7 separate regions of the Homo sapiens genome follow, and all the other regions are linked to region 5. Evidence: promoter capture Hi-C in 16 types of primary human blood cells and fetal thymus (Javierre and others, 2016). All regions are on one chromosome and are shown on one strand. Each heading gives the region's core, a stretch centred on a gene start or on the middle of the fragment in contact. The rest is flanking DNA. Distances are from core to core; before and after follow the strand shown.

Region 1 (4,003 bases), core at 144-2,643, 1.7 Mb before region 5:
TAGTAATGCACAGTGATGCAATGTGGTCAAATGCATTGCACAGTAATGCAGTGTGGTCAAATTATGATTATTTTGAGCACAGTTGATGGCTTGGCTGTCAGGAAATAATGCAGCATCCCTGAAGTCCTATGCAGAGTCTGGTGTGTGAGTATTTTTATAGGGATGGAGGACATTTCAGTTTTTACCAGATTCTTAAAGAAATCTCTGATCTCAATACTAAGCTATCTGATTAATTAAGCTTCTTAAGCCTTTCTCTCTTTTCTTGTGCTAAAATACACAATACATGAAATTCTACCACTACTTAGTAAATGTAGATGTAAGCACTATCAAAGATATTTTTAAAAATTTATAAACTACCAGAAGCTAGAGATCATCTCTTAAGCATTTTTATACGCTAAGTACCAAGTGCATAGCATAGCTCAATGGCTCCCATAAATGTTGATAATATTCTGTAAGATATGTGATGTATACATTTAATATTTATATGTCAAATGCTAGGGGTAAGTTTACCAATTTTTTTGGTAATCTGTCCATACTCAGAAAGGTAATTATGATAGTTCCTCAGTTATTCTGCATTCTTTTTCAGGCTGGTATAGCTGAGTGTGACAGCTAAAGATTAATCTGTATTTATTATGTTTTTCCCCGAAAATCCTTTTGATGGAAGATGCTCTTTAACAAAAGATGTCATCCTTCCCTTAACTAAATGTCATTATGAATGATACTTATTATAGCATGTTGTAAGAGACTGATGCTCTTGGCACTTTTGTAACATCTAGAATGCCCTCCTGTTTCTAACTGTTGTGATTGGCCTTTGCTGTCCCCTGTTGGTAACTGCTTTGTTACACTTCTGTTACTTCTGAAAGTGGACAGTGGTGATAAACTAATGCAAAATTACGTCAGCTACATATTGCAAGGAAACTATTTGGTATGCATTGTTATCAGAAGAGAGTTGGTTATCTGCATAAAAAGTGAGAGATTGCTTACTTGCCTATGAAATAAAATACATGAGCCTTGGAATAAATATTTTTGCTTAAGTCTTTTTGATTTTTTTTTCTAGGTCCTGATGAATACGTATCTGGGTGGTCTGGGTGGTGGGCATTTTACTGCCTAAAAATGACAATTATCTTTTGCTTTGTTAGGTAATGTCAAAAAAAGTAAACAACTTCTTCAAAAAGCTGTAGAACGTGGAGCAGTACCACTAGAAATGCTGGAAATTGCCCTGCGGAATTTAAACCTCCAAAAAAAGCAGCTGCTTTCAGAGGAGGAAAAGAAGAATTTATCAGGTAACTATTAAGGTATACTAATACTTTCTGTGGTAGGTAGTACTTCAAATAAAGATTCGGGATAATAATTTATAGAAAAATATTATTTATGTAGAATGGTTAAAATCTAAGATTAAATTGTAAAGGAGGTAAGACTGAGAAGTAAAAAAGTCTCTACAACCCCATGCAAATTTGTCTTTTTTGCTAACTAAACTTTCGTTAACACATGAAAAACAACTCTAAGCAAGAGAATTTTTTTTTTTTTGCTTTTGGAAATAGAGAATGTGCTTTTACCCTGGGGAAATAGTTATATAATTTAAGAGAATTTGAAGAAGTAGTTAGATAATTATCTTGGTATCATCTTCATGTCTGCATATCTTACTTGGGGACAAGTATTTCCTATGAATTGACTTTTAAAATATTCTTATTTGTAAGATCACTTTTTTGTACTTGTCTTATTTCTTATAAATTTAATCATAGTTTCAAAATTTTTACAGCATCTACGGTATTAACTGCCCAAGAATCATTTTCCGGTTCACTTGGGCATTTACAGAATAGGAACAACAGTTGTGATTCCAGAGGACAGACTACTAAAGCCAGGTTTTTATATGGGTAAGGAAACGGAAACAGTTTTTAAATGTTCATCTTCTATGTAAGTACATCTGTGTTTTTTAATGTAATTACATGTATCTGCATATATGTTTTCATGTGTGTGATAATGTTTAGCAGTAGAGTAGAAATACATATTAATATTGTTCTTTGAAAAATTGGGGGTATTTTCTTTCTGTTTAGAGAGAACATGCCACCACAAGATGCAGAAATAGGTTACCGGAATTCATTGAGACAAACTAACAAAACTAAACAGGTAAGTTACTTTCAATCTGCTTGATTAAGGTGGTGATAGTCTTTATTTCCTAGTTGGTTATTTAATCTTTCAAAATATTTTTAGTCATGCCCATTTGGAAGAGTCCCAGTTAACCTTCTAAATAGCCCAGATTGTGATGTGAAGACAGATGATTCAGTTGTACCTTGTTTTATGAAAAGGTATGTTGAGTTTTAATTTTTAAAATTTGTTGTCCGTATGGGAAGATTAATGGCAGAATGGTCTTAAAGTCTTTTACTGAGTAATAGTAATTATGATTAAATTTTTATTCAGTTTTAGAAGATAATCTCTAAATGTTGTCAGGAACAAAGGAATGAGTGGAGAAAATAACTTTGTTTTGCTTTTTCACTCATTAAAAATATTCATTAAAGGAGCTTTAAAAGGAAAAAATATTAAGTCAACATTAAGCTTAAAAGACTGATATTTGAGGATTTGTCACTTACGGGTAGGCTGTCTGCTAAGAATCTCTTCCTGTTTTGTTTGAGAGTCTCCATAACGGGTAGAAGGAGGTCTGGGAACAAATATTTGCTCCAGATAGTTCAAGGGGAGAATCGCTGTCAGTGGGATAGATGATTATTCTTTTGCTTGAGTCTAGTGCTTCAAGAAGTGGGACAGGTTAGGTACAGATGAATTACTGTTCATCACATCCAGTGTGTTCTCCTTCCCTCAATTTGCTTGTTTATTCCCTGTTAAGAAATGGGAATGTAGCCTGTAGCTCAGCTAAAGGAGAGTTATTTTGGCCTATTCTTAATTCTGACCAACATTTGTAATATTTATATTGGAAAAGGCTCCTTACAGTCCAGAGAATCATTTTGCAAATAAACTTTAGAAATACGATTGTTTTTCATTACTATCTTTTATAATTACATTTCTATTATATTTAGACTTGACTAAATATTGACATTAAAAGAACATTTTGTTTGTCAAGGTTAAGCTTTAAAGTCTTATCACTATGATTTCATCTTGTTCATCTCTATTTCAAATACCTAGCTCAAGAATAAAGGAGATTTTCTTCCGCTCCAAAAAATTAAAAACAAAAACAGAAAAACTGCAGCCATTTTCTTGGTTCCTGTTATCGATAGACAATGCTAGGTACTGTGGAGGTCCACAGAAGTGCTATACCCTGGTTCTTATCCTTTAGCTATTTGTAATTGGAAATGTAGTTTCATCTGTATACTTTGCCTTTCCCACAGTCTAACCCTAACTCCAATTGTTACTGATTAGATAATGAAGAAGTAGGCGATCACCTGTGTCACTTTTGTCATTGCCCAGCACGTAATTTTGTTAGCTAAGTCACTTTTGTATTGGAATTATGTCACTCTAAAAAATGTCTTTTTAAGAGATTTTTTTCAATAAAAAGTATGTATATTATTAAAAATCCAACTTGAGATGAAAAAATACATTGAAAATTTTTTTTTTCAAATTTAATGTTAAAATTATTTTGTTTCACGGGTAAAAGACAAACCTCTAGATCAGAATGCCGAGATTTGGTTGTGCCTGGATCTAAACCAAGTGGAAATGATTCCTGTGAATTAAGAAATTTAAAGGTATTTTAATTCTATATCATTATATAAAGCAAGGGTTCCTGATCTGGGAGGATCAGTATTCATGGAGCTTTTTCTGGGGAAAGGGTTTATAAATAGTTCATGTATCTCCAACAGTGTTCCACATACCCCAAGAGCTGTGGGACTACGAGTGGGAAGTTGGTGCAGAAGTCCTAGACTATGTTTCTCCAAGATTAAGGTGGTAGAGCAAGGATCAACAATCTTTTAAGAGAATCATGAAGTAATATTTATTATGCACGTGTTTAAGCAGATAGTTGGCCTGGGTTTGGGAATACGTGACTGGGGGAACTGTT
Region 2 (4,089 bases), core at 893-3,392, 1.7 Mb before region 5:
AGTTTAACAATCTCTGCTTTTTATTGTCTATGTTCTTTTTTTACCTCTGTTAAAATGATTACTTTTTCCATTTACCTCTGTTAAAATGATTACTTTTTCCTTTTTCAGTCTGTTGATATGGTGAATTGCATTGCTTGATTTTCAAATGTTAAATCAACCTTACATTCCTATGAATTCTTATGTCCATTTGGCCTTGTTATACTGTTATTTTTATATATTGCTTTATTATATTTGCTTTTTTAAAGATTTTTGCATCTATCCTCATGAGGAATATTTGTAGTTTTCTTTTCTTATAGTGTCTTTATCTGATTTTAATATTAGGTTAATATTATCATAAAATGAGTTGGAAAATATTACCCTCTCTTCTATATATTGGAAGATTTTTTTATATAATTGGCATTATTTCTTACTTAAATGTTTGGTAGAATTCACCAACGAAGCAATCTGGGCTTGAAGTTTTGTTTGTTGGGACATTTTAAGGTATAAATTTAGCTTCTTTTGTAGATTTAGGACTATTCAGATGATCTTTCTGCTCCAAATAAAGCTTTCTCTAGACTCCCTCTACCTGTGTGAGCCAAATGTTGTCTGTTTATTTTTCATTTTCCCATAAATTTTTAGTTTGTAGATGTCTCTGTCCTAACTATGCTGTATATGTAAAATGTGTGTGTTTAATTTGCTCCCCTTTACTCTTTCTTTTTAAAAGAGAGGATATAAGAATATTCAACTTTACCACCATTTTCTACAGAAATTCCTAAGTATATTTAAGTAGTCTTCTAGTGGCAATTTTCCAGTCTATGTTGAAGAATTCAGAGGAAGTACTTTCATAGTGGGTTTTTTTCTTTTCTTTTTTTTAATGACTAGAGGGACCACATGGGTACTTCCTGGGCAGGATAACTATATAGTCATTAGGTCTTTTTTTGGCTTCCAAGCATCAATTCTCCCTTTGGTTGGTAGCAGTCCCTTGAGTTATGTCTGGGAAATCTTTTTTACTTTGTATATAGTCTTGGTCAGTAGGATACCCTACTGTTCCTTAGTCAAGGGATAGTAATGAACTAATCTAAGCTAGTCAGATTCTCTCTCCTAAAAACTGAATCTTGAGCAGAATCACATAAAGACATTGGAGCCAATTCATCCTATGAGTTTTAATATTCTCACACATTTCTAAATTAACTCCTGTTACCTGAATCTCTGGGGCCATCCTGGTTTCTGTTCTTTCTGAGGCTGCTTTTTTTCTTCAATTTTTGTGGGCCATCCTGTATTTTGAAAAGTAATCATAATTCTGTGTAAGTTAGCAAGAAGTGATTTCAGTAGTTGTGACCTAATAACCCTACTTAATAAAAGAGTGAGTGGGGAAAGGTGGTAGCTGTTCTTTTCTGGACAGAGAACACAGTGTATATAAAGGCTGTTTGTTGTTTATAGGGTTTGTGTGATATGTGGACTATTTGTATCAAAGACACTGGATGGGGGAAAGCTTATTAGAAATGCAGATAGTCTACCCTAGGCCTACTGAATAAGAATTTCTCAGCGTGGGGCCTAGAGAATCTAAAATTTGAACAAGTTTCTCAGGGATTACTCTGAGAAATAAATTTGAGAAACACAGCATAAGACCACACATTTTGAAATATGAAAAATACAGACTGGAAAACTTTAAACTGCTTAAACTCAGCTTAGTCAGTTTAATCTCTTTGATCCTGTTTTCTCATCTGTAAAGTGACTGTAGCAAGACCTTGTCATCAAGTTGTTTTAAGAGATTAAAATGTGCATAGAAAAGATTTTGGTGTTTCTTCAGTAGAGGAGAGTTGCATCAGTTTTAAGTGTTTAGATTCCAAAACCTAAGTGCAAGATAAAACTTGTGACTAGCTAAAATTACAGTTGACAACAGTTTAAATCCACAATAATAATGTGTAGCTACATTTATGCATCATGTTGTAGAAAAATGCACTTTTAGTAACTATATTACTGAGAATGTTTCCTGAAGAGTTAGGATATGTTAGAATAGCTGAACACCATGTAAAGTAGGTTTGTGATTAGAAGCCATGTTCTATTTTTAAAAGATAAAAATATACACTGTTAAATTGTTTCTCAGTCATGCTCCAGGTGAAACAAGTATGGAAGAAGGACAGGTGATTCTCCATGTAGTGTCATTCCAGTAACAGCTTATGGATGCTCTAGTTTCTGAAATGTTACTACCTGATGAGGCACAGGAAGAGAACTAGAGAAATGGCTACCAGGTGCTAAATTCTTCCACCCAAGAATGCCCGTCTGTACTTGTGGTCAAATTCATTGACTGGCAAATCAAGACACATTGCTATGCCTGATTTCAGGTGGCTAGGGAAGTTCAATCTACCTGAGTTCCTAAAAGCAGAGGGAATAGAAACATTTGTATCAACACTGTTTTCCACATGGGGTCTGGATATTAGCATGTTTGAAAGCTCCCTAGGTGATCCTAACGTGAAGTCAAGGCGGAGCACCACTGGTCCAGGGCTTACACTGTTTGAAAAAAAAAAGGAAAGAATCAATTGCTCTACTTAAAGTCTCATGTGAATTTGGGTAGGTTAAATGTGTGCATCATGTGACATAGGCTGACTTCTATTTTACCTGTGTTTAGGAGTGGCTTTACATGGTGAGGAAATCAAATTGTCAAGGGTCTTTGGTGGTGACCACTGCCTGTCTGCCCCTTTGCTCTTCTCTCTTTTTCCACACTGGTCACCACCTGGTGTTCCCAATAAAGTTTGTGATGGAGGTAAGGTAAGATATGGGTCTCAAATTTCTTTTGTCCCAATATTCACAATTATGTAAGCCATAGTTTTAATTAAGCTTTGAGAAACCTAGCAGTACTCATAAATTACCTGGGGAAGTTTTAAAAAATCACTACTGCCGGGCTGGTATGTATTTTTACAGATGAGTAGCTCTCTCTAAAACACTGTTATACATACAGGCAGATATTAACATTTGTAGCCGTTTTCTGAGCCATTGATTGTATCTAAATCCTTCCCCTGGGCTGAGCCCAAACTTCCAATAATGTCACTTTTTGATGCCCTTTCTTCAGTGACTGGCTTACACGGCTTCTGTCTACATAGCATGGTTCAAAGTGCTTGGAAGACTGATCACAGTGCATCTCAAGCCCCTGCAGGAGATAAGAAGCCAGAGAGAAGTTGCCAAGATGCCGAGGAAGGGGAAGAAGGAATAACTCACATGCTGGATGGGACAGCTGGCTTAGACCAGGGGTTGGCTTAAAATAATGTTGATTGAAACACTGTCTCTGGCACATGCAAGGCTCTCAGTACACACTAGTGAATAGTAGAATCAGAATTCTTAAAATTAGAAGTACGCTAAACCACCTGTAAATGAAGCATAAATCCTCCCAAGAGGCTCCCTCAATAGTGTTCATCCATTTCGTGCTTGACTATTTCAGTAATAGAGAATTCATTACTTCCCATGACAGTCTACTTAATAAGAAGCTCTTTATATTACACTAGAATTTGCTTCTTCCTGTTTCTTATTCTTCCCTCCGGAGCTAAATAGTAAATTTAACCCCTCTACAAGGGAGCCCATCAAACTTTGAGGGAGAGTTAATACATCACTTTTAAAATCTTATCTAGACCAAATATCTCTAGATTTTTAACCCTTCTCCAAATGACTTTAGGTCATATTTGAAGAAATCCACAAAACACTTTATAAAAACTCTTTAACCATGTAAACATCCTCCTAATAGTTTATCAAAAGCATCCATAGTTTATCAAAAGCATTCATCCAGTTAGCTTCTGTTCCTGCAACCAAGTCTCTGACTGTTATGCCCCTGTCCCCTGAAAGATATGTTGAGCTTGACACTCCCCTACCCCCAAACCCAGTACCTAACCCCTGGCCCTCAGAATTTAAGCTTATTTGGAAATAGGGTCATGGCAGATGTAATTGATTAAGTTAAGATGAGGTTAGATTGGAGCAGTGTGGGCTTCTAATCCAATATGACTGGTGTCCTTATAAAACGATAGCTGTGCAAAGATATGGAGACGGCATGTGGTAACAAACGCACATACTGGATTTATGCAACTGCAAGCCAAGGGATGACAAAGAATTCCAGAGAACCAA
Region 3 (3,614 bases), core at 78-2,577, 1.8 Mb before region 5:
AAGATTGTTTGGGAGGGAGAGATAAGAAAAGGACACAAAGAAACATTTTTGAGGGGATGATGGATATGTTCACTATCTTGATTGTGGTTTTAGTTTTATGGCTGTATACATACGTCAAAACTTATCAAATTGTTCAATTTAAATATGTATAGTTTGCTGTATACAATGCCTGAATAAAACTATTTTTAAATTGTGCATAACTTATATATTTATTTTTTCCTCCAAAAAGATACTATTAAATTGACATACATTATTAAGGAACAAACATCATATAACCTAAAACATATGGCTTATAACTTCAACCACAATAACCAGCCTAGTCAGTCCTTTACACACTGCCCTTCTGTTCTCCTTACCCTACCACATGTGCACATAATGCAAAATTCTGTACTTCTTTGTTTCAACCCAACATGCTAGAAAAAAGACTATAAAACTCTGAGCGATGGTTTCCATTGGTGACTCTCCCCCATTGCATCCCCAGCTATAGGTTTTGGTGTGTCAGTCCTGACAGTCTGAAGGTGTTTACAAAATATCTTTGTGATAGTATTCAGTCCTTCATACAGTTCATGGCACAAGGAACTCCAGAAAAGTAGTGACTTGGCCAAGAACTACAGTGAGAAACTAAGTATCTGACCTCTAGGCCTTGGATCTTTTTCTAAGATCCAGAGTCAAGTGTGCAGAGACAGTGTAATGAGGGAACCTAACCTAGTACATCTTCTCTGAGGAAAAGATCTGAAACAGAGACTTGTTGAAGAACAAAGGGAACTAGAGGGCACTGGAGAATGAGGAAGATTATCCCAGGTGGAAGGAACTGTGTATAGAAAAGATGCCTGTTGGAGGAACCAGAAGTCCAGTGTAGCTACAGCATATGTGCTAAAACACAGTGAATAGCCTTGGAAGACTGCTGTAAAATGTAGCTCAAGAGGGAGGTAAGGACCAGATCATATAGCCTCATAGCCTGAATTAAGAATATCATGCTTAAAGAATAGGAAACCACCAAAGACTTTGTCTGATTTATCCCTTTTAAAAGATAATTTGAAAGCAAATAAGAGTAAATGTGAAAAGACAAATTGGAGAAGCATTGCTATCATTCTTGTTAGGAAGAGATTATGATGGCTTCATCAGAGTAATTACAGAGAAAAGGAGAAATGTATGTGGAGTCAAGGAACATAGGAAAATAAATTAAAATAACTCAGTATTAATTTAGGACCTCTCAAAAAGGGAGGAGTTTTGCGGATAGCATTAAAATCAGGACCAGAGGAGTACTTTTGAATTGTTTCCTTTTCAGGTTTGTTAGATTTCTGGTACATTCTTGGCCCATGCACAACATCTGCATAGTGCTTATCTATACATCTGCATAGTAGCTAATAAATATTATTTAGGAACAGTCAGCTCTCAGACACTAGACTTATTCTATTACTCTCCCTAGACATCCCTTGTTATAGACTGAATGTGTCTCCCCAAAATTCATATGTTGAAGCCCTAATCCCAATGTGCCTGTGTTTGGAGTTAAGACCTATAAGGAGGAAATTAAGACTAAATGAGGTCATAAGGATGGGGTGCTGGACAAAAGGACTAGTGATCTTACAAGAAGAAGAAGAGGCACCAGAGACATCTCTCACTTTCCACTGTGACACAGAAAGAGAAGGACTCATGAGGACATGGAAAGACTGGGAGGCTGAGGCAGGCAGATCACTTGAGGTCAGGAGTTCGAGACCAGCCTGACTAACATGGTGAAACCCCGTCTCTACTAAAAATACAAAAATTAGCAGGGTGTGGTGGCACGTGTCCGTAATCCCAGCTCCTTGGGAGGCTGAGGCAGGAGAATGGCTTGAACCCGGGAGGCGGAGGTTGCAGTAAGCCAAGATTGCGCCACTGCACTCTAGCTTGGGCAACAAGAGTGAAACTCCTCCTAAAAAAAAAAAAAAAAAAAAAAGATAGAAAAGAAAAGAAAGAAAGAGAAAGAAAAAGAAAGAAAGAAAAGAAAGAAAGAAAAAGAAAGAAAGAAAGAGAAAGAAAGAAAGAAAGAAAAAAGAAAGAAAGAAAGTTAGTTGCCATCTGCAGGCCAAGGAGAAAGGCCTTACCAAAAACTGGCCCTGCTGGCACCTTGACCTTGGGTTTCCAGCCTCCAGAACTGTGTGAAAATAAATTTCTGTTTTTTAAGCCACCCAGTCTGTAATATTTTGTTACGGTAGCTTGAGCTGACTAATACATATCTTTACCCCAAAGACATTTCTTCCCATGTCTATTTGGTTCATCTGAAATTTTGATTAGTCTAGGTAAACTAAGAAGGGTGATATAGGTTGAATGTCTGTCCTCTCCAAATCTCATGCTGAAATGTAATTCCCAATATTGGAGGTGAGGCATAGTGGGAAGTATTGGATCATGGGGGTGATCCTACATAAATGGCTTAGTGTCATACCCCTGGTGATGAGTGAGTTCTCGCTCAGTTAGTTCATGTGAGATCAGCTGTTTAAAAAGAGTCTGGAACCTCCCCCTTCTCTTGCTTATGCTCTTGCCATGTGACATGCTGGCTCCCCATCACCTTCTGCCATGATTGGAAATTTCCTGAGGCCCTCAGCAGAAACCGAGCAGATGCTGGCACCATGCTTTTCATGCAGCCTGCAGAACCATGAGCCAATTAAACCTCTTTCTTCTTTCTTTTATGTTGTTGTTGTTGTTGTTGAGACGAAGTCTTTCTCTGTCGCTCAGAATGCCACTTGGCATGATCTCGGCTAACTGCAACCTCCACCTCTTGGATTCAAGTGATTCTCTTGCCTCAGCCTCCCAAGCAGCCAGGACTACAGGCGTGTGCCACCACACCCTGCTATTTTTTTATTTTTAGTAGAGACGGGGTTTCACCATGTTAGCCAGGCTGGTCTCAAACTCCTGAGCTCAAGAAATCCATCTGCCTTGGCCTCACAAAGTGCTAGGATTACAGGTGTGAGCCACCGTGCCCGGCCCTCTTTTCTTTACAAATTACACAACCTCAAATATTCCTTTATAGCAATGCAAAAACAGCCTAACACAGAAAATTGGTACCAGGAGTGGAGTGTTGCTATAAAAATACCTGAAAATGTGGAAGTGGCTTTGGGACTGGACAACGAGCAGAGAGGTTGGAAGAGTTTGCAGGGCTCAGAAGAAGACACAAAGATGATGGAAAATTTTGAATTCTTAGAGACTGGTTAAATGATTGTGACCAAAATGCTGGTAGAGATAGGGATAGTGAAAACCAGGCTGAGGAGGTCTCAGATGGAAATGAGGAAGTTTTTGGAAACTGGAGTAAAGGTCACCCATGTTATGCCCTAGCAATGAACTTGGCTGCATTGTGTTCATGTCCTAGGGATCTGTGGAAGTTTGAACTTAATAGACTATTTGGCATAAGAAATTTCAAAGCAGCAAAATATTAAAGAGGTCACCGGGCTGCTTCTAGCAATTTATGATCAGGAGCAAATACAAGCAACCACAGGAGCAAAAAACAAGTGACTTAAAGCTGGAAATTACAGTTAAAAGGGAAGCAGAGGCCAGGCATGGTGGCTCACACCTGTAATCCCAGAACTTTGGGAAGCTGAGGAGGGCAGATTGCTTGAGCTCAAGGGTTTGAGAGCAGCCTG
Region 4 (3,589 bases), core at 606-3,105, 1.7 Mb before region 5:
CTTTTAGTATGCCTTTGTATATCATATGTTATTATTTTATTTTAAAAGTTATAATATTTGTAAAAACTAGTGAACAGGCAACTAATTTAAAAACTAAATCATGGTGTTCTTTATTTTGTTTTAGCAGAAACATACCACTTTTGAGCAACCTGTCTTTTCAGTTTCAAAACAGTCACCACCAATATCAACATCTAAATGGTTTGACCCAAAATCTATTTGTAAGACACCAAGCAGCAATACCTTGGATGATTACATGAGCTGGTAATTACTTTGGCCCCTTGCTTGATTGGCAGGGTGGTATGATAGAATTAACATGGGCTTCTGGGCCAAATAAATCTGGGATTAAATCCTGCTCTTTTACTTTAAAGACTTTCCATCTTCATATTATTTTTTCAGCATCAGTGTTTTCATCTATAAAATGGAAAGGGGGAAGTGGTTGCAATAATGCATATTTTTAAGGATTGTTGTGCATGTAGTTTCTGTCATATCGTAATCTGTACCTACAACCTATAAATATTCTAAGGATGTAAAACGTCTTGATAATCATGTATTGCCATACAGATATCTCTCTATTAAGAGAGAGATTTTAAAGGTTAGCATTCTTAGAGCAGATAAAGAGTAGATGAATTTTTTCACATAAGTGGTGTTAATTGGAAAGTGATAGCTTCTGGAAGAGATTGGTTTTTACAGTTCATGTAGTTCTGGAGGTATTCAAAGGTGTAGTATTTGAGTGAATAGGAATGATGGATAAGTGAAGAAGTTCGATGATGAGTGTGCTGATAGGGAACACAAGGGATACTACAAAAGAAAATGAATGACATTTCAGAGAAAGGAAATAAAGGGATGCGATACATTATAACCATCAACCGGTGGCTATATCTTTAATGTCTTAGGGGATAGCTTAAATCCGTGTTGTCTTTTGCGTTTCATTTTCATAATGTAATCCTTGATCTTAATTAGAACTGGTCTTAAAGATTTTATAACCCAGCCTCTTACCTACTTAATATAGTTTTACTATATATTGCCTCATTTTATTATATGTAGAATATTCTAAAGAATGATTGCTAACTAAAATAGCGATAATAGATATTTCTTGTGATACTAGGTTAATTATTGTTAACAAATATTTGTGGAGCTCTTTTGTGCCAAGCATTGTTCTAGGTGTTGAGGATATATTAATAGCAAAAAGGCAAACAAAGCACAAATGTATACTGGACAGATTTAAGCTCAAAGGCCAAACTCCTGTGATGTAATTGGCTTTCTGATATTTCTAGCAAGCCATTATAGAACATTATTGTTTAAAAAAAAACTCAAAATCTATGGCCGGCCACAAGCTGATGTTTGCTAAATTCATATAAAATAACCCTAACCACTTTGTATTTTAAATGCCATCTTTTCAAACAAAGATTTCTTGTCTGCATACAAATATTTACTTTCAGAAAGAATTCCCCAAAATTAAATATCCGGTGGTGGCATATCTGGAATAAGTGTCAGCTATATCATGAAAACTAACTTGGGTTCTGTTTGATGTAACACTTTTAAGTTTATATCAGTCTAAAATACATGAAACTGAATCAGACTTATTTGTTAAATTGTAATGTTTTAAATAAAAATATATATATATTTCCTAGTTTTAGAACTCCAGTTGTAAAGAATGACTTTCCACCTGCTTGTCAGTTGTCAACACCTTATGGCCAACCTGCCTGTTTCCAGCAGCAACAGCATCAAATACTTGCCACTCCACTTCAAAATTTACAGGTTCGATAAGCTTTATATATGATGGTATATGTTAAGATACAGTCCGTTTTACAGCTTTTATTTTTATAGCATCTAGTTATCAAGAAAGGTCTTAAGAACTTGGCCATTCTTATTTCCACTAGACAAAACTTTTCTGATATTCTAATAAGAGTGTGCCTTGTGGCTTTGAGAGGTTGGTTATTGAAGAAGCTTACGAAGCTACTCTTAATAACTAGGCCAAAGGATCCAGTTTGAATAGCTGGATAAAATTTCTCTTATGAATCAAGGTTACCTTTTATTTTTTATTTTTATTTATTTATTTATTTATTTATTTATTTATTTTTTGAGACAGAGTCTCGCTCTATTGCCCAAGCTGGAGTGCAGTGGCGCGATCTCGGGTGACTACAACCTCTGCTTCCCAGGTTCAAGCGATTCTCGTGCCTTAGCCTCCCGAGTAGCTGAGATTACAGGCACGCACCACCACACCTGGCTAATTTTTGTATTTTTACTAGAGACAGGGTTTCACCATGTTGCTCAGGCTGGTCTCAAACTCCTGGCCTCAAACCATCCGCCCGCCTCAGCCCCCCAAAGTTCTGGGGTTACAGGCATGAGCCACTGCGCCTGGCCAGCGTTACTTTTTGTTGTGTTTTGTCAGCTGCTAGTGAGCAGCTTCATTTTGTTTGTTAGTATACAATTCATTTGGAAATGTAAATTTTCAAAAATATCAGAATAGCAATATGAGGTACTGCTAGAATGTATTATACTAATAACTAAACTAAGAGGAAAGATTTTTTGCTGATGAGGCAAAAGTTGGTTTCTAGTAACTGTCCTAGAGGCAGCTTAATACTGGTAGAAAACATGGGCCTTGGAGACACTGGGCATGAATCTTAGCCTCACTACTTACAGTCTGTGTGATCTTTTGCAAGTTACCTAAATTTTCGGTGCCCATTTCATTATCTATAAAATTAGTAAAGCTAACTACCTCCTAGGATGGTTGTGAAGATTAAATTAGTTAATATAGACGTAACTCCTAATACAGAGCATGACACTTAGTAAATCAGAAATGTTAGTAGCAATTGTTATTTAAATAAAACAATAAAAAACCCATGAGTAATTAACTATAAAAATCAACTGATAAAAAAATTAGCTGACAGAATAAGAACAGTGGTTGTCAGGGAAGGGAGGAAGAATGGGGAGTTACTGTTTAATGGGTATAGAGTTTCAGTGGTATTTGCACCACCATCCATCACCAGAACTTTTTCATCATCACATACTGAATGTACTTAATGCCACTGAATTGTACCTAAAAATGGTTAAAGTGGTAAATTTTGCATTATGTATAATTTGCACAGTTTGAAAGAATAATGGACAAAATAATGAGCTGACAGTAGATACTAACTGGAAAGAGGTGATAGTGTTTTAAGGATTGAAACAATATAATAAATTACAAAGGAAAAACAAAAATGATCCAGTTTGTTCATGCATTGATTCAAAACACATTTATTTAGCTATTACTAGTGTCAGGCCCTGTTTGAGTTGCAATCCAGAAGACGAGTCACAGATGACAAGTGAAGGGGCTTGGTGGAGCCTTCTAGAAGAGGCCAGTGTCAGAAGAGAACTGAAACGAGGCCACAGTGTGGCTAGAGGTCAGGAAGGGGAAGGAGTGAGGCCCAAGGTTTGCTGGGCCCTTAAGTTTTACCCTAAGAGGGTGGGAAGCTTTGGAAGAGGTTGAAGCAGGGAAGTGAAATGATCCAATTTGCATTTTGGAAACTCTAACCACAGTGAGTAGGGCATACTAAGGGGGATGCGGGAAGTCCTGTGGAGGAAACCAGAGTTCACATTAGTGTTGAGT
Region 5 (3,820 bases), core at 1,309-3,808:
CCAAGAGGTTGCAGTACTTAAGCAGGCCTCCCCCTCGGATTTCCTCTGGGTTCCTGGTGGCAATGATCTTGTTACAAAGGTGATCAAAGGCTTCCTGGAAATCGCCATAGACGCTCTCCCCGATTATTGTGGGGTGAAATGTCTCAGTCATTGGGTTCTCTGAACATTCATAAAAGAGCAGAAGAGAGTCTAATTTGATTTGAAAAGAATCTACACTGAATTCAAACTGCCTCCGGAGGGAATCCACAAATTTCAGTTCCACATTTTTGCCACTGTTGTTTGACAGGGATATAAGACTCCATCGGTCAGAGTCATTGCACACTTTAACCATTTTCTGCACATAAGCTTCCTACAATTTAAAAGATAAAACAAAATGAGCAAACCTAGAAAATAATAAATCAATAAATAAATACATCCTCTTCACAGCTGAGAATTATTTTGCTCTTTCCCTTTTGTTTTGTCAAGTTTCAGCCAAACACTACCTACAGGCTTAAACGGTCTTCTGAAAATAGAAAAAAAATACTTTTAACGAGTAGTTTTACTGTCTGGGAAAGGGACTAGAGGTAATAGTTTGAGGCTTTTGGCAGACGTAGCACAGTAGTAAGAGGTTTTGTTGTCATGTCTGACTTTTTAAGTGTTACTTTTTGAAAACGGTCTAATAGGCACAATATTCACACAGTATCCAAACAACATTCAAAAGACTCGGAAGGGCATTCAGCGGTAGGTTAGTCAGCCTCTCGCCCTTGTTCCAAGCCACCCAATTCCTCTCCGCCTGCGGCAATCAATGTTATCAGTATCTTGTGTGTCCCTCCAGGGGCACCCTGCAGTTACAATCAAATATAAACTAAATTATGACATTCCAGGAGCCTGCCTCCTCAGACAATTTTAACTAATCATATAAAACCCGTCTTGAACTAAAGTGGAGGGTGGGGAGGGGGTGCCACTATACCCTTAACATATGAACCAGCACGAAGAACCACCAGATAGACCTTTAACACGTAGTCAGCTGAATGCCGCTGTGAAATCTATTCACCTTTTCCAGTACAATAAAAAACTCATTGACTCACTTCTGCTTCAGGCTGTTATTTTCCCAAAGGCTAGACTCAAATATAATGACTCAAAAATTATTTACATCATTTCATTCTGCCAAGTATCAGAATCTACTCTGGACAAGACTCCAACAGGGAAAGCCAAGAGTTAAAACATAAGGAGAAAGAAGAGAAGAGAGGGCAGAGGAGGACCTGGGAGAAGAGTTGTAGCGCCAAAGCATCAAGTAAACTGAAACACTCAACACCGTCCACGCACGTCAGTTTACTGGTTTAAAAAATCAAAAATCAAAGAAATAACGCGCGCCCAAACTCGTGATGGCCACAGATTCATGGCATTTAACCGATGCCCCTCTGCCCGCTCCCCGTCACACCCGGCCCAGACTGGGTCAGGACCCAAGTGCATCTCGGGTGGTGTTACCTTGAGCGTGAGTGGTGTGATCTTCTCTTTGTTCACCCCCTCGGGTAAGAAGTCCAACAGGCAGTCCAGCACGACGTCCTTCACAGTCTGAAACTCCCCTTCCCCGCGCAGGTCGGCGCAGAAGATGAGGTCCAGGTCCTTGTAGCCCAGGCCGCTGTCCTGGTGCAGGACATGGCTGGCTGCCGAGCCGTTGAGGCGCACGTCGCGGACGCCAATGCGCTTCTCGGCCAGGCGCCGCCGCACCACCTTCACGATCAGGCTCGGCTGCAGCTCGAGCGTGGGGAAGTTGCCGCGCCCGTGAATCGGAATGGTCTCGCTCAGGATGCCGTCCAGCCGCTGCACTTGCTCCCAGTTCAGCACATTGCAGTGCGCCGTAGGGCTTTCGCAATAGTCCAAGCAATGCCCACCGAAGCTGCCGCCACCGCCGAAGTCGCCGCCGCCGAAGTCGCCGCCGCCGAAGTCGCCGCCGCCGAAGTCGCCGCCTAGGGGGATGTAGGGGCTGCAGGCCAGCTCGTCCTCAGACATGGCGAAGTACCCTTCACCCTCCGCCATGTAGTGCCCGCCGAGCGCCACTTGGCCCTGGTCAGTCCTAAAAAGAAAGGGAAAGGAGCGCGGTGAGGACGCGCGGCGGCGGAGAGCACGCGCGGCGGCGGAGAGCAGAGGCCCGCCAGGAAAAGAGCGCCCCCTCCCCCGATAGTTCCCTGACCCCGGGCCTCCTCGGAGACTCCCTCCCCCGGCCCTTACAGTCCCCAGCCGCGCACCGCGCCCCGCAGAGCAGCCCCGCACCAAAAGTATCTCTGATGCATCTGGAAAGCGCAAGCGAGAGTCCCGTCTGTGTCACCTGGAGGCGGCCGCCCCTTCTAGGAGCGCAGCGAGCGAGAGCGAAACCGAGAGGCGGCAACACTTCCAGGAGCTGCGAGCGCGCTCAGACAGCAAATAGCGACTTCGTCTTTCCCAGACCCCTGCCGCCTGCGCTCACCACTCCCTCCCCGCGACCCCTCCTGCGCCGCTGCCACCCCAGCTGCGGTGGTCCCGAACTGGCGGCTCTTGCTGCCACACACGCTCGTGTCTCTGGAGCTTTAGCAGTTGTGCGGGGAAAATGTCTTCAGTACTTTTTTTATACCGGGCTTCTCTGCGCTTCCGGGGCCCAGAGCGGCACGTTCGCCACACCCTCCTCATCTGCATAGGGCGCCGCCCCCTCTGCCCTCCCCCGCCCGCAGGGCACGCAGCTGACTAGCCCAGCAGTTAGTGCGGGACGACTGCCGGTGAGCGTGAGGTCCTGGGCTGTATGTGCGGATACTGTGTGCGCCCGTAGATGCGTGTATTTATACATACATTTAATTTATGTACGCCCCCTCCCACAAATCTCTTTTCATTTTCCCCAGGAGGAGACACTTTAAATGCCCCAGGAATCATAAGTGGTCATCAAAACCAGATCACGACTAAAATCCTGCAACTGCAGAAACTTCCCAAAATTCTCGCGGACTCAGCCCGTCTTTAGATCATCACGGTTGGGCTCCGGAGGTTCCTCACGACCGCTCTTTTAAACCTCGGTTTTTAGGTAGACCATTTACTCCATTGATAAACCCGATCCAAGTGTGGACTCATGAGTCCACTCTTGCACGCAAATCAGTCACGGCGCGTGAGTGGGAAGGGCTTGTTGATAACTGGGTTTCGATTCTCGAAACCTCGGGAAGCGCGCCGGGGAGCTCTGGGCGAGCCCGAGAAGGCGCGGGGGCGGCACCACGGGCCTCGGGCGTGCGCGGCTCCTGCGCACGAGTGGCTCCAAGGGGCCAGTACTTCGCGGGGGTCAGGGCGCGTCACGGAGCAGACGCGGGCGAGCAGCCAATGGCCGAGGACTGGGCGGGCCGAGTGGGCGCAGAGAGCGCGCCCGGGGAGTGCGTGCTGCCCCGGAGTCCAGGGAAAGGGCCGCTAGGTGTCCGGTGCCTTTGCTGCGAGTTCTCTGACAAAATTGGAGGCGGCGAAGCGCGTTCCTCGCGGCCCCCTAAAGTTTGGCCATTTTAAGTGCATCATAGTGTCAGTGGAATACGATTTGGTTTTCCACGAGACGTAAAAGTAGGAGTTTCAAGAATAAAATGAATTCTCTCCTCCAGCTTCGGTGACTTCGGCAGAGCTAATTCTACGCACGCTCACTCGCGCCACCACCACTCTTTGCTAGAAAGCTGTGGCCGTCTCTTCGGCAGCTCGCTGCCTCCATCAACTAACCCGGAGCAGCTTTCCCAGCGCCTAGACGCTGCCGGGGGCTGAGGTGGGGCAGAGGGGAGAATGCCAGGGTCACAGAATACTCCCCAAACCCTGCTCAGCCCTGCCCGCCCAGACTGGGAGGAAAAAC
Region 6 (3,965 bases), core at 1,081-3,580, 1.8 Mb before region 5:
TTGTACTACAGGGCTACAGTAAACAAAACAGCATGGCACTGGTACAAAAACAGACACATAGACCAATGAAACAGAATAGAGAGCCCATAAATAAGGCCACACACCTACAATCATCTGATCTTTGACAAAGCTGACAAAAACAAGCAATGGAGAAAGGACTCCCTATTCAATAATTAATGCTGGGATAATTGGCTAGCCATATGTAGAAGATTGAAACTGGATCCCTTTCTTATACCACATACAAAAACCAACTCAAGATAGATTAAAGATTTAAATGTAAAACCCGAAACTATAAAAACCCTGTAAGATAACCTAGACAATACCATTCTGGACATAGAAACTGCCAAAGATTACATGACAAAGATGCCAAAAGCAATTGCAACAAATGCAAAAATTGACAAATGGGATGTAATTAAACTTAAGACCTTCTGCACAGCAAAAGAAACTATCAACAGAATAAATGGACAACCTACAGATTGGGAGAAATATTAACAAACTATGCATCTGACAAAGGTCTAATATCCCACATCTATAAGGCACTTAAACAAATTTACAAGAAAAAACCAAGCCCTTTAAAAATTGGGCAAAGAACATAAACAGACACTTTTCAAAGAAGACATACATGTGGTCAATAAGCATATGAAAAAAATGCAATATCACCAAGCATTAGAGATATGCAAATCAAAACCACAATGACATACCATCTCACACCAGTCAGAATGGCTATTGGTAAAAAGTCAAAAAATAACAGATGCTGGTGAGGTTGCAGAGAAAATGGAATGTTTATACACTGTTAGTTGGAGTGTAAATTAGTTTGACCATTGTGGAAAGCAGTGTGGCAATTCCTCAAAGAGCTAAAAACAGAACTACCATTCAACCCAGCAATCCCAATGCTGAGTATATACCCAAAGGAACGTAAATAATTCTACCATGAAGACACGTGGACACACATGTTCATTACAGCACTATTTACAATAGCAAAGACATGGAATCAACCTAAATGCCCATCAGTGGTAGAATGGGTAAAGAAAATGTGGTACACATATGCTATGGAATACTACACAACCATGAAAAATAACAAGATCATGTTCTTTGCAGGAACGTCGATGGAACTGGAGGCCATCATCCTTAACAAACTATTACAGGAACAGAACTGCATGTTCTCACTTATAAGTGGGAGCTAAATGATGAGAAAACGTGGACACAAAGTGGAGAACAACACACTGGGTTCTACTTGAAGTTGAAGGTGGGAGGAGGGAGAGGAACAGAAAAAAGCAACCAATGGGTACGAGGCTTAGTATTTGGGTTATGAAATGGTCTGTACAGCAAATGATGTGAGTTTGCCTATGTGACAGGCCTTCACATGTACCCCTAAACCTGTAGTAAAAGTTAAAAATAATAAATAAATAATATAAAAATAAGTAAATAAAAATAAAAATTAAAAAGAGCAAGAAAGCCTTGCTAGATTATATGGATGTTTCATTTATATTTCTCTTCCCTTATTCATATGGTCTTCCTATCAGTGGAAACTATGGAGAGTCATCCCTTCCTGCAGCATATGCATAGGACTGCACAAACTAGACTAAAAAACATGATAGTGGGCCTGTGGAGATCAGTTTTACTGTTTCTTCCTGTAAGTCTCATGATAGAATCAATGGAGTAAAGGTACAGCATAATGAGGGCTATAAATCATAATATAAAGAGGATATATAGAAATTTGAAAAATCTGCAAGGTTTCTCCTTTTATATGTGGATTTTGGTTAATCCTGATTCCTTTCTTTAAAAAGAAAAAAGAAAAAAAAAAGATTTGTGGTTGCCAGGGGCTAAAGGGGAGGGGAGAAAGTTGAATATGTGAAGTATAGTGGATTTTGTTTGGGTGGTGATAATATTCTGTATGATACTGTAATGGTGGATAAATAACACTATGCTTTTTTTTTTTTTTGACAGAGTTTTGCTCTGTCACCCAAGCTGGAGTGCTATGGCACAATCTCGGCTCACTGCAACCTCCGCCTCCTGGGTTCAAGCAATTCTCTTCCCTCAGCCTCCTGAGTAGCTGGGACTACAGGCATGCGCCACCACGCCCAGCTTTTGTGTGTGTGTGTGTGTGTGTTTTTAGTAGGAACGGGGTTTCACCATGCTGGTCAGGTTGGTCTTGAACTCCTGACCTCAAATGATCCACCCCCCTCTCCACTTCCCAAAGTGCTGGGATTACAGGCATGAGCCACCGTGCCCTGCCGACACTATGCATTTCTCACAACCCATAGGACTTTACAGCAAAGAGTAAACCTTAATGTATGCAAAATTTCCAAAATTATTTTGGAATTTGGAGGGTTCCAGGATGAAATATAGACTGTGACAATATAATCTAATTGTATTTCAAAATGTATAGAACAACCTCACTGAAAGGTGTTGGGATAAAATTTGCTGACCTAAGTCCATTTGAAAATGAGTAATCTGTAAGACTAAAAGAGAAAGGAACAGCACATAGGTAATGTACTGTAGTTGATATAGTTATTTCCCACAGTGTTATGAGTCAACAATTCTGATACTTCTGTGTATGTGTACTAGAATTGAACAATTAAGTAAATGAATGGCAAATAGTGGAAGCCAGGTTTCTTACTATTAAAGTGTAAATTTAAAGGTAAGCAAAGGGAGGAGGCTAGGATGATCCCTATTGTAGTAGATTAGAGTTGGACACACCAACATAAACTCCCGTTTGGCTTAATATAGATGCAAAGAGTTTTACATGTAGATGTTTACAGATGTTCCTGAACTTTGATATTCAGATAATCCCATCATAAATTAAAAATATTGTAAGTCAAAAGTGCATTTTCGACTAAGGTATTTTCAGCTTATAATGGGTTTATCCAGATATAGCCCCACTGTAAGTTGGGGAGCATACTGAATGTGCATGATTTTTTGCACCATGATATAGTTAAAAAATCATCATAAGTCAGGGACTGTCTGTAAATACACAGGTCAGTATACACACATGTATTCCTTTGCCCTGTCAGCTGAGAGGGCTAAGAGTAAATGATACTCTACAGGCAACAAGCACACGTCGCATCCAGATTTTGGTGTTTTTTTGTTTTTTTGTTTTTTTTTTTGAGACAGAGTCTCGCTCTGTCTCCCAGGCTGGAGTGCAGTAGCGTGATCTCTGCTCACTGCAAGCTCCGCCTCCCGGGTTCACGGCATTCTCCTGCCTCAGCCTCCTAAGTATCTGGGACTACAGGCGCCCGCCACCATACCTGGCTAATTTTTTTTGTATTTTTTAGTAGAGACGGGGTTTCACCGTGTTAGCGAGGATGGTCTCGATCTCCTGACCTCGTGATCCGCCCTCCTCGGCCTCCCAAAGTGCTGGGATTACAGGCGTGAGCCACCGCGCCCGGCCCAGATTTTGGTTTTTAATACCATTTTCCAATCTAAGTAACCAGAAATCCTTGAAAAAATAACTAGCTCTAGGACTGGGGCAGGACATGTGTAAGAAGAGCCTGGTATAACTTTCTGTAGTTATGCCAGAAAGTAAGGAAGTACTCAGAGAAACCCCCCCCCCCAATTTTATGGATATGGCAAAGGGATACCGCAACCAAAGCCTAAAGCTGAAACATTTTGAGTAGCAAATTAAGGTAGTATTGCACTGTAGCCCAAAATGTAAAACAAATAGCCATGAACCAAAAAAGGGAGGGAGGGAGCGAGGTGGGGAGGGGAGAAGAAAGAAAGAAGAGATAAATTTCCCTTGCCAAAGAATTCAAAATAATTTATGTAGATACTCCACCTTCAAGGAAGTGGAACATAACACCCCATTCCTTAAATGTAGGCTGCACCCAGTGACTTCTTCCCAAAAAGTGCAGTATGAAAAGAGGGAAAGAAGAGTATCTTTAAAATGGATACACCTGACAAATACTACCTCAATCACATGATCAAGGTCAACATCAACAGTGATAAAAAATGTTGATAGTATGTAC
Region 7 (3,957 bases), core at 308-2,807, 1.7 Mb before region 5:
TTCACCATGTTGCCCAGGCTGGTTTTGAACTCCTGACCTCAAGTGTTCCGCCTGCCTAGGCCTCCCAAAGTGCTGGGATTACAGGCCTGAGCCACCATGCCCAGCCCCACATACTTATTATAATATAGAAGATTTCACCAGAAAGTTCCTTTGTGTTATTTCCTCCATCTCTTGTGGTAGTCAGCCTCTAAGATGGCCTGCAATGATTACCACCTGTTAATATTATGGCCCTGTGTAATGTCTTTCCACATTAAATAATGTTGACCAGGGTAACAATAAGATACTGTGGAAATGATGGACTTTCTCTTTTGTGATTGGTTTATAAAGACATTGCAGATTTCTGGTTTTTTTTTTTTTTTTTTTTTCTCCGTTGCCCAGGCTGGGGTGCAGTGGCATGATCTTGGCTCACTGCAACCTCCAACTCCCAGGTTCAAGCTATTCTCCTGCCTCAGCCTATGGAGTAGCTGGGATTACAGGCATGTGCAACCACACCCGGCTAATTTTTGTATTTGTGGTAGAGACAGGGTTTCGCCATGTTGACCGGGCTGGTCTCGAACTCCTTACCTCAGGTGATCCACCTGCCTCAGCCTCCCAAAGTGCTGGGATTACAGGCACAAGCCACTGTGCCTGGCCACCATTGCAAATTTCTCTAGGGGAAGCCAGCTGCCAAATTGTGAGGGCACTCAAGTAGCTTTATGGAAAGACCCATGTGGCAAGAAACTGAGGCCTGCTGTCAACAGTTAGCAGGGAACCAAGACCTTTTGCCAACAGCCATCTTGGAAGTGAATAAACCAGCCCAAATCAAGTCAAACCTTGAGATGAGTGCAGCCCTGGCCAATATACTGACCTTAGTCTGAGAGATCCTGAACCAGAACCATTGGGCTATACCAGTCCAAAATTTCTAACCCACAGAAATTATTTGATAATAAATTCTTGTTATTTCAAGCTGTTAAATTTGGCGTGTTTGTTATGTAACAACAGATACTACTAAATCCCTGCTATCTCTGCTCTGATTTTTTCCTTATGATTAAATTTGCCTACTTTTGAATGTCATATAAATAGAATCATACTATGTTTTATTAAAAATAAAATTATGTAATTTAATTCTATTCTTAATAGTTTGAGCTTTTCCCTGAAATTTTTCTAATGAAATTTTTTGCTCACTGAATTGCAAAAGAGCAGCAACCAATGGAAAAGCACCTCTTAATTGCCCAGCAATTTCTTATTTGAGTGTGCATATATGTACACTCAAATGTGTATGTGTTTAATTATTTAGACTTTTAAACATATTTTCTTTTTCTTTAAGAGAAACAATTTATTTAAATCTGTAGGAATGACTCTTTTGAGATGTCTCACATAACCTGGTTTCCATGAGGACCTATCTCAGGGCCTTGAACCTAGCAGGTGTTCAGTAAATATACAGTAAATAAATACGTAACTAAATCAATCAGTTATTGCCATCAATTCTGATTGCCTGAGTGAAAGAGGTTCAGACTGTGTGATCCTTCCTACTTGATCTGCATTTTGTCACTCACACTTCCTAAACTTTCACCTATGTTACAAATCCTACAGGTAGGTGTCCAACAGGGCCAGCCTGAGCCTTCTGTAGCAATGAAAAGCAGCTAGGACCGTGTCTTGCATCATTGTGGACTTAAAGCACATACCCTACTTAACACCTGCAGGCTTTGGCTGGTAATTCTGTCCCCAGGAATGTCAAGACTAAGTCACAAAGATGTACAGAAGACAATGCCTCTTTTCTGAATACAATCTCTCTTTTACCAACCTCTCTGAATAATACTGTTACTCGTTTAGGAAAGAATATGTGATGTGTAATTCCAAACATAGAAAAATGTAGATGCATTTTATCTACAGCCAGTATACTGTGTGAAGACTATTCTATAATGAAAATTTTGAAAGAAGACTCTAGTCTGTTGCTTAGATGGTATGGAATTATAGAATCTGGCATTAGCGATGATAACTTCTTGGTAGTCCTTGGGCCATCTTTTCTCACACATTTGGGAGACTAGGTCAAATAGAAATGTTTATATTCAGTTACAGATGAATCATGAATTCAAAACATTGGGAAGATGGGCTTCCATAGTCATTCTTAGAAAGCCAAGTTCACCTTGTTCTCTTGTGCTGATTTTAAAAAATCTTTTTTTTTTAATGTTGTGTGTGTGTCTGTGTGTGTGTGTGTGTGTGTGTGTGTGTGTGTAGAGAGAGAGAGACAATATTTTGCTATGTTGCCCAGGCTAATCTTGAACTCCAGGCCTCAAGTGATCCTTTCAGCCTCTAAAGTGCTTGGATTACAGGTATGAGCCACCACACCCAGCCCTATATCTTTTCAAAAATATGTTTATCTTTCTTTTATTAAACAAAATTTAGGCTTGTAATCTCAGCACTTTTGCAGGCCGAGGCCAGAGGATTGCTTGAGGTCAGGAGTTCGAGAACAGCCTGGGTGACATGGCGAAACCCGGTCTCTACCACAAATACAAAAATTAGCCAGGCGCAGTGGTGCATGCCTGTAATCCCAGCTACTGGGCAGGCTGAGACATGAGAATTGCTTGAACCCAGAAGGCGGAGATTGCAGTGGGCCAAGATTGTTCCACAGCACTCCAGCCTGGGCAGCAAAGTGAGACTGTCTCAGAAAAAAAAAATTATATAGCTAAAAGTGGTTCATACTCACTGAAGCCGTCGCTAGGAGAGTGGAATGCCGAAAGCAGATAACCAAGATGTAAATTCTTAAGACTCCAAATATGATGGGACATGCCAAAAAGACAAAAGAGCCAACTTGAAGGGGTTCCCATTGACTAAATCTGGGACAATTGGAACAAAAAAAAATAATGATGATAGTTATAATCCATGAATAAAATAAGAATCCATGCTGATATAAATAAATCGTTGAACAAATATATAAATGAAGGATTATGAAAAGCCATGTTTTAAAGTAGAATTCTTAGTAACATGCACAGATTGATGGAAATAGAAAAATCATTATTTGGCAAACACCACAGTAATAATTGTTTTAAGATCAAGATTCATCAATGCGTGATAAAATTAGTTCCTGAAAGTATTTACATAGTGTCGAAGAATCTTCCTGCAAGACAATTAGTTACAAGGAGAAAAATAGTAACTTTACAGTAGAGAAACCAGGCAGATACCACTTTAACCAAATGATCAGTTAGTCTCAAAGCTGAAGAAACACATTGATACCATGTGTCTTCTAATAAGCCCCAAGGAAGAGGACACAAAATCATTTCTGTTGTATTCTTGCTAAAAAATGCATAACCTGAATTTAATCGTAAGCAAACATCAACAAGCCCAAGTGAGGGATATCCTACAAAACAACAGGCCTGTACTCCTCATAAATGTCAAGGTCTTGAAAAGCAAAGGTAGACACAGAAATTATCTGGATCAGTGCTTTAGAACTTTAGTATATATCATAAACACCTGGGACAGCTTGTTAAAAACACAGATTGCTGGCTGGGCGTGATGGCTCACACCTATAATCCTGGCACTTTGAGAGGCTGAGGTGGGAGGACTGCTTGAGTCCAGGAGTTCTAGACCAGCCTGGGTAACACAGCATAGTGAGACCCCATCTCTAAAAAATTTTTTTTTTTTAGTTAGCAGGGTGTGGGGATGTGAGCCTATAGTCCTAGCTACTCAGGAAGCTGAAGGTGGAGGATCCTTGAGCCCAGCAGTTTGAGACTGCAGTGAGCTAAGATCCCACTACTGCATTCCAGACTGGACAACAGTGCCAAACCCTGTCTCAAAAGACAAAACAAACAAAACACAGATTGCGAACCCCCCAAACCCCACTCAGAGTTTCTAATTAGTAGGTCTGAAAATCTGCATGTCTAACAAGTTCCTAGGTGACAACACATGCTGGTGAGCTGGGGATCCCCCTCTTTGAGAACCAGTGTTCTAGAATGTGCAAGCTATGGCCCATCAGCTACG

The links. The method cuts DNA at HindIII sites, captures the fragments that hold promoters and counts their contacts. A CHiCAGO score of 5 or more calls a contact.
Region 1: a contact is called between a fragment that was not itself captured here and the fragment with the promoter of TENT5A in region 5, in 12 of 17 cell types (naive CD4 T cells, total CD4 T cells, naive B cells and 9 more). The highest score is 15.9, in naive CD4 T cells.
Region 2: a contact is called between a fragment that was not itself captured here and the fragment with the promoter of TENT5A in region 5, in 12 of 17 cell types (naive CD4 T cells, total B cells, neutrophils and 9 more). The highest score is 23.1, in naive CD4 T cells.
Region 3: a contact is called between a fragment that was not itself captured here and the fragment with the promoter of TENT5A in region 5, in 6 of 17 cell types (fetal thymus, naive CD8 T cells, neutrophils and 3 more). The highest score is 9.9, in fetal thymus.
Region 4: a fragment that was not itself captured here is called in contact with the fragment with the promoter of TENT5A in region 5 in 5 of 17 cell types (total CD8 T cells, naive CD8 T cells, total CD4 T cells and 2 more); the score reaches 7.7 in total CD8 T cells.
Region 6: a fragment that was not itself captured here is called in contact with the fragment with the promoter of TENT5A in region 5 in 4 of 17 cell types (fetal thymus, naive CD4 T cells, naive CD8 T cells and 1 more); the score reaches 7.9 in fetal thymus.
Region 7: a fragment that was not itself captured here is called in contact with the fragment with the promoter of TENT5A in region 5 in 2 of 17 cell types (neutrophils and total CD4 T cells); the score reaches 8.9 in neutrophils.

Annotation. Positions count from the first base shown.
Region 1 is chr6:80,009,675-80,013,677 of GRCh38, forward strand. It overlaps TTK (TTK protein kinase), which reads left to right. Exons shown (of 22, transcript NM_003318.5): 5 at 1,140-1,283; 6 at 1,760-1,874; 7 at 2,055-2,127; 8 at 2,212-2,306; 9 at 3,605-3,692. Among named protein-coding and RNA genes, the nearest start is that of TTK, 7.0 kb to the left of the region's middle. The HindIII fragment of the contact is 2,315 bases long and covers 237-2,551 here.
Region 2 is chr6:80,096,866-80,100,954 of GRCh38, forward strand. No RefSeq gene overlaps it. Among named protein-coding and RNA genes, the nearest start is that of BCKDHB, 7.8 kb to the right of the region's middle. The HindIII fragment of the contact is 1,346 bases long and covers 1,470-2,815 here.
Region 3 is chr6:79,989,471-79,993,084 of GRCh38, forward strand. No RefSeq gene overlaps it. Among named protein-coding and RNA genes, the nearest start is that of TTK, 13 kb to the right of the region's middle. The HindIII fragment of the contact is 8,753 bases long and covers 1-3,614 here.
Region 4 is chr6:80,026,254-80,029,842 of GRCh38, forward strand. It overlaps TTK (TTK protein kinase), which reads left to right. Exons shown (of 22, transcript NM_003318.5): 12 at 125-261; 13 at 1,632-1,758. Among named protein-coding and RNA genes, the nearest start is that of TTK, 23 kb to the left of the region's middle. The HindIII fragment of the contact is 179 bases long and covers 1,767-1,945 here.
Region 5 is chr6:81,750,123-81,753,942 of GRCh38, forward strand. It overlaps TENT5A (terminal nucleotidyltransferase 5A), which reads right to left and starts at 2,559. Exons shown (of 3, transcript NM_017633.3): 1 at 2,309-2,559; 2 at 1,468-2,056; 3 at 1-349. The coding sequence starts at 2,019. RefSeq lists enhancers at 2,220-2,720, 3,581-3,630 and a silencer at 2,631-2,760. The HindIII fragment of the contact is 5,877 bases long and covers 344-3,820 here.
Region 6 is chr6:79,968,924-79,972,888 of GRCh38, forward strand. All of the region lies in intron 1 of LOC124901351 (a long non-coding RNA gene), which reads left to right. Among named protein-coding and RNA genes, the nearest start is that of ELOVL4, 23 kb to the left of the region's middle. The HindIII fragment of the contact is 8,436 bases long and covers 1-3,965 here.
Region 7 is chr6:80,080,871-80,084,827 of GRCh38, forward strand. No RefSeq gene overlaps it. Among named protein-coding and RNA genes, the nearest start is that of BCKDHB, 24 kb to the right of the region's middle. The HindIII fragment of the contact is 6,761 bases long and covers 1-3,957 here.